Linked DNA regions of Homo sapiens: region 1 is linked to region 2. Evidence: promoter capture Hi-C in 16 types of primary human blood cells and fetal thymus (Javierre and others, 2016). All regions are on one chromosome and are shown on one strand. Each heading gives the region's core, a stretch centred on a gene start or on the middle of the fragment in contact. The rest is flanking DNA. Distances are from core to core; before and after follow the strand shown. Region 1 overlaps CRISP1 (cysteine rich secretory protein 1). Region 2 holds the start of OPN5 (opsin 5).

What was found. The method cuts DNA at HindIII sites, captures the fragments that hold promoters and counts their contacts. A CHiCAGO score of 5 or more calls a contact.
Region 1: a fragment that was not itself captured here is called in contact with the fragment with the promoter of OPN5 in region 2 in 2 of 17 cell types (neutrophils and M2 macrophages); the score reaches 6.8 in neutrophils.

Annotation. Positions count from the first base shown.
Region 1 is chr6:49,838,152-49,841,770 of GRCh38, forward strand. CRISP1 (cysteine rich secretory protein 1) reads right to left here. Exons shown (of 8, transcript NM_001131.3): 6 at 2,747-2,844; 7 at 286-374. Among named protein-coding and RNA genes, the nearest start is that of CRISP1, 27 kb to the right of the region's middle. The HindIII fragment of the contact is 3,812 bases long and covers 1-3,528 here.
Region 2 is chr6:47,780,704-47,784,038 of GRCh38, forward strand. OPN5 (opsin 5) reads left to right here and starts at 1,329. Exons shown (of 7, transcript NM_181744.4): 1 at 1,329-1,493. The coding sequence starts at 1,364. The HindIII fragment of the contact is 3,260 bases long and covers 1-1,496 here.

The sequences.
Region 1 (3,619 bases), core at 373-2,872, 2.1 Mb after region 2:
CACTTACCTCAATATTTTATCTAGGTTGACCCTAATTAAATATTTTAATCTGTTGGGTGGGAACTCGAGTTCTCAGACCTAGACTTTGTAATTTCCTTTGCCATAGGTTAAATCAATGGTTTTCAGTCACTCTGGCAATTGGGGAGGGGTAAGCAGAAATAATTTGTACATGAATGAGATGAAAGTTGTAGAAAAGTGCGATGTTTTTTAATGCTTAATTTAAAGGATGTATGGTTCCCAGATCAATGGGTTAACTGTAAACAAACAGAATGCAAACAAACTTACTGCAAAGTTTGTCTTCACAGTTACTTGGGCAGGCTTCACATGGGACGCCTGTCTTATAAGGTTCATTCTTTGTTTCAGGATCATTTCCCCTTGAATAAAAAAAAGTGATTTCATAAAACCCATCTTTGAAAAACTCACATAAAACTTTACTCACAGTGTACAACCAATTTTAAAAACAAATTGTGTAAACATTCTTGTAAAGAACAGTGATAATTTTTAAGATGGGTGTGAGATTTCCAATCTTACAGCTATAATATTTTTTAGCACGTAGAACCAATAAATGTGAGTGACATGAAAATATTTTTCAGTCAATGTGCACATCTCGTTGGACAGTCAAGTCCTAACAGTACTTGGGAACTTTGGGTACTCCCAAGTACAAGCAAGGGGACTCACAAGCAAGAGGGCTTTAGAGCCAATTACAATAGAACATTCTTCATTAATACCTATAAGGACTTGGTAAACCATCATTTAAAAGGGCATGATTCTTACCAATGTTAAGAAGAAAATCTCAAGTGAGGCAAGTTAGAGAGGTTCTAACTCCATCTTGCACTATGTTATAAGAAACTTTTTACATGTTAATGTCTTTTATTGAAAGAGATGGTGTATATAAAAGATGAAAGTACATCAGCATGGATAAAACTAAAGTGCTGGGGTGTGGGAAAGAAAGTAGATGAGAAGTTCTAGTTCTGGACTAATTTGAAACTTTAGAAAAGACGGGCAGGGCTCAATGACTTATCCCTGTAATCCCAGCACTTTGAGAGGGCAAAGTGGAAGGATTGCTTGAGCCCGAAAGTTTGAGAAAAGCCTGGGCAAAAAAAAAGCATCTTCATATCTACAAAAAAAAAAAAAAAAAAAAAAAAAAAAATTAGTTAGGCCTGGTGGCGTATGCCTGTAGTTCCAGATACTTGGAAGGCTGAGGTGGGAGGATAGCTGGAGCCCAGAAGGTCAATACTACAGGGAGCTATGTTGACACCTCTGCACTCCAGCCTGGGTGACAGAACAAGGCCCTATCTCAAAAGGAAAAACAAAAAAGAAAAGACAATTCTTACCCATGTATGTCTAAAAACATAATGTAGATAATATCTGCTTCTAAATACAACTTTAAAAAGTAAATGTTCTGGTTTTAAAAAGCCTTTTTAAATATGATATTTGTTTATCTGAGCTGCTAAAATTTCACTTTGAAAAGAAGATTATTACTAAATTCAGTAAGAGATTTAATGAGAGACTTGGACTAATCTTCAACCAAGAAAATTCCCCATCATAGATCTCCATATTTTGTACTTTTCTTTTTTGGATCAGTTGAAGTTCACTGCAGACTACCAACCCTTGAAAACATGTATCACAAATGATGTGTTGTAGCAGCAAAGAGATTTTATTGTCTTCAGCACAATTTATATATAACTCATATAGAGTTATTATATGGTGATATTACACTCTGAATCAATAGTGATAGTGGTGGCGCCACTGAAAATGTGAAGTATGGCAGTGTGTTTTCAAATAAATCATGTTCATTGATTTATACTGAACATTTTGTATTGTGCTACATACATGGGAGGCAGTGGTTAAGCACCATGCATTGAGTTCACATTATGTAGGAAAGACTTATGTGTTAATCTAAGAAATACATGTAGCTGAAGGAGATATATGATGGCGTCACTGACTTTTATCAGCAGAAGTGCAGAAGTGATATTGAACTGGCATTTGTAGTCAAATATCAGGCAGTTCTATCCAGCTCTGAATAATCTTCACTTTTCTGATAACCGTCACTGGAGCCACACAGTTGGGCCCTGCAGTCATCCTTGTCTTACTTGATCTTGCTTCATAATCACAGTTGATAGGAGAAGAAGGTGCAGCAGAACCTTACTGAAACAATCAGATTAAATTTTCTAGGAATTGTGACTAGTATCTGTGGTAGAATCTGTAACATGTATATTTAATTTTTAAAGAGAAGACATGCAACAACTTTTTGACTAGATAGCTAAATACAGGGAAAGACACTTGGCTCTTTCTATTTGTTTCCTTGTTAAGACTCCACTGCATGTCTGTCCTTTTGGTCTAACAATACTCTTGTTTTGTTGAAGTAAATGTCCTTGTTTCTTTGCTTAATCAAATTTGTTTCTCTTATATAATAATTACCTGAAGAATCAATGACACATAGGAAGACTGCTGGTAAATTGCTCTGAAAATATATTGGAGTTTTTTTTAAATAAGAGAAAATACAGTCAAAGGAATAAAATAATATATAACTAAATATGTGTTTTCACATAACTAGGAAGTAGTCAAGACTCAAACTACAGATTGTGTAACCATTCATCTTTGAAGGACATCTGGGTTATTTCCAGCTCTTGTCTATTATGAATAAAGTTGCTACAAACATTTATGCACACAAAAAAACAATGTTTGAAAAACTAGATTAGGTTACTTTAGGGGGATATATATTTTAAAAACTAATAATACATACTCATGACAATAGTGACAAACGTAGAGATATCGAGGTGATCCTTGTTGGCGGCAAGATGCAATGGCACAGCCAATCAGGTAAGATGTGGCCCAAACAATCTGCAATGATAAAGAGTTGTTTTATTACAGATTAAATATTTTACTAAATGACTATAATATCCATATTGTCATCCATGATTAAAAGTAAACATGTTGCTTTTAGGTTTACTTTGGGCATGGCTTAATAAGAAGTCATAGAAACAAAAGGACTCCCACGTGTCTGGATACCACACATGCATGTACACGCACATAGCTGCACACAATGGAAACCAGGTGGAGAAAATCAGCTGACGGGGAGGATGACTTGATGATTGACATTGTCTCTATTTTTTGTCAGTTTTTCTTTTTGAAAGTAAGTTGGGCTTCTAGATGTAATTTCTAATTTTAACAAAACCCAATGTTCATTTTCTCTGGGATAGGAGAGATGGGTAGAGAGAGGGTAAAGGTCCAAAAGGTAGCGTTGATCATTTTGCTATGAACAGGCTGATGTTCAAAGAGGACTTGAGTGTTGCCTTTCTGTACATGGGCCGTACATGACTGTGCATGGGATTCATTTCTCTGATCTTATCCAGTATACTCAGGGATGATCAAAACTCTGTGTCAATTCTCCATGACTCATTGGAACGAAACATGAGTGGCTGTCATCAACGCTGGCTCATTCTCCCCTTCTCATCAAATTTATGTGGACAAGATAACTTATCAGTTTACATAATGAAGGCTGCTTGGTGGTTATATAAAAATCAAAGCTTGGAAGAAACTTTTCTTATCGGTCAGTGAACAGGCATACTGTAGAGTACTGAGTTGGTTTTTGAGGAAAAGTGAGCCAGGTTTAAAT
Region 2 (3,335 bases), core at 79-2,578:
CCTCAAACTGTGTGTAGGAGACTGTAGTTTCAGCCAACTGGCCACTGAAAGGGTCACTAGCCTTCCTCTGTAAGCTGTAAGTTGGCAGTTAGAAAGGGGTTAAATTCATGTCTTTTGCGAAGGTGAATTACATGGTTAGATATGTGCCGATCACCCTGTCACCGCCTGTGGGGCACACAACTCTGTGTTCCACTTGCTGTCTCATATAATGCCCGAAATTGTTGCCTAGAGAGCTGAACAGTGACATCTGTTGGTTCGATTTGAAATAGGCAAGTTCAAAAGAGAAACAGCCACACTAGTATTTCTTCCCCTTTCAAAACAAATAGGAACAATCATGACAAAGGAATGACCCTTCCAAAGGAAGTTTTAACATCAGCAGCATACTTTATCTGAAGAACAACACACGACTCCAAGTTTCAGGATGAGGGATATCATGTGACTTTTATTTTTGCAGAAAGCCCATCAAAGACTTTGTGTAAACCTTTTAAAACTCCAATTCAAAAGAAACAGTACTAAGACCTGTGTATCTGAGAAATTCCTCAATGCTCAAGATTTCATCCAGAAGCATAAATGAGCAAATAGAAAGTATGGATTTGGGGCAGTGGTGAGAAATAATGAAATTGCTTTCTGCTCTAGGAAACTTGAGAAACAAACCTTCCTGTGGATGTGCCTGTGAGTTACAACCCAGCTTGAATCCTTTCTAAATAGCTCCAAATTTCAAGATCACTTTGACAATCACCTAGCTCTTAGCTTCAATTAATTAAGTGTCCATGTTCCTTTGTACTGAATGCTCTATTTCTTTCCTTACAAAACTCTAAACCTCATTGAATGTACAATGGAAATGATTTTCTGGGAAATCTGGATAATCAAAAAATACTATATTCTGACAAGTTATATATATACATATGTAAATTTTTTATATATTATATATAATTTATATACATAAATTATATATATATAGTGTGTGTGTGTGTATGTGTGCACACTCCATACAATATCATTTCCTGCTCAGACCTTTACAAAAATTGCTAAGAAACAGTAAATTGCACAGTTTGGCCTTCAACCTTTTAATCACCCCAAGGAGAAAAGAAGTGGCTCAAAGAGTAGCATGAGAAAACAGAGGAGAAAATGAAGGCTTGGATAATCTGCCAACCGAATAACTGAGTAATGACATAATTGGATCATTGAAAAAAATGTTAAAATTTTTACCAGTTATTAATTAGAGAATCATGCATGACCCTGGGAACTTGCTTTTTGTTTTAAAACAGGAGCCACGATTATGAAATGGTTCAAGCTGGCTTATTCAGGTCTGCTGAGATCTCTACTGGTTTGCTTTTCAGATCCCTCGTGGTTCGAGAACAGAATGGCGTTAAATCACACTGCCCTGCCTCAGGACGAGCGCCTGCCCCATTACCTTCGAGATGGGGATCCTTTTGCTTCCAAACTTTCTTGGGAAGCGGATTTAGTGGCTGGCTTTTACCTAACAATAATTGGTAAGCTTCCTTAATTCTTCTGTGCAAAGGCTGCATTTAGAAAATTCATGGGCTGATATGTTAATTTTGTGAAAGGATTCTGATACTTAAGTGGATAGTTTAGTGGAGGCGAAGAGTGGGGAAAGGCAGAAGATGGAATGGCATTATGGCATTCAATAAATGTTTCCTAGAAATGACTCTTTATTATCATTATTATTAGGAATAAAATTCCATTGATAATCCAAGAACTCTTACAGCAAAATTATTTATCCATTTCATTTTGGTTACTTTGGGAGTAGATTTACTTTCTGAATACCAAAATTAATGATAATGATATTTTATTTAAACAGAGTGCTTTTTAAATAATGTTTTTGACATAATCATAAGTTTTAGGTTGAGAATGGGCCTTAAAAATAATCTAGGTCAGTCTCCTGTTCTCACAACTGTGCAAAACTCAATTGTGCTATTGTGCTATAGTACTATAGTAATGGCAGAAACACTGAGTTTACTTCACCTAAAAGTAAAGTCGCATCAAAATAGCTAAGCCATTTTGGTGACAGTTGAAAAATGTGTTGGTGATAAATGGAAGAAAGTCCGGGGTCAAAAGATTTTTGTGCATAATTGACGAAAGGGTGCACCTGCTTCTAGACTGCATGATCTCATTCATTCAGTAGCCACATGTGGCTTTTCCAAATTGAAAGTTGCTGTAGTGTAAATACTCACCAGATACTGAAGGCTCAGTACAACAAAAAGTGGTATAAAATATCTCATTAATAATTTTTAAAAATTAAATACATGTTGAACATACAACATTTTAGGTATGTTAAGCTAAATAAAATATATTATTAAAATTAATTTACTGTAAATTTTAAATTTATAAATTAAATTTTTACTTTGTAAATTTTTACTTTGTTTAATGTGGCTACCAGAAAATTTTAGAATCCATATGTGGCTCGCATTTCTGGCTTACATTACATTTATACTGGATAGCACTAATCTAGACAGTTAGGATTTAATTTAACCACCTATTTAAATTTAAGAAAAGAAACCATACTTTTCTTAAATTTAAAATTGTTGTTTTAACTTTGGGTGACCAGTGTGAAGGTGGGTTATGTCTTTAGGTTTGTTTGCCTTTAATTTTTTCAGATGTTGGGTCAAACTTGCTCTCTCTCTCTTTTCTCTTTGTTTCTATCTTTCTCTTCCACCCTTCTTCCCTTCCTCCCTTTCTCTCTTTTTCTCCCTCTCTCATCTATTTATTACTGGCTAAGAATTTCATTTAACCTCCTGAAAGTAGCAAAACTCATTAGAAAATACTTGATATCCCTCTATGGTCAGTACTTGAGGCAAAAGGAACTCATGTGATTCAACCAAATTCTGCTGTAAAGTGATTCCCTGGGTCTTTGTCTTTATTGTTGTTAGTGTTTTACTAGTTTAAATTCTGTTTCTTATAAATGAGTCCCCATCTCTTTTCAACATAAATATATATTGAGCGCCCACTCTTTGCCACTGTTTTAAGTTGCTGGGAATAGAGCAGAGAATAAAATGGGCAAACATTCTGCTGGAACAGAAACTGTCTTATCTCTGTAAAATCCACATTGCATTTTTATTAAACTTAAGTACTTTCAATTAACAGAAAAGGCAGAAAAATAAGCAACTTGATCAATTGTATTTAGCATAGCTCCATCACTTTCAAGGAATGAATTAAAAAAGTAACATCAATAACCTGACAAATCTCTCCAGACAACACAAAACAGAGAGGCCTATCAGTCCATTCCCAATCTTAAGCAGGGAGGATTGCAGGAGGATTGCAACCAGGGTGAGGAAATCAGGAGAATTTCCCACCTGATACACATGGAGTTGGAA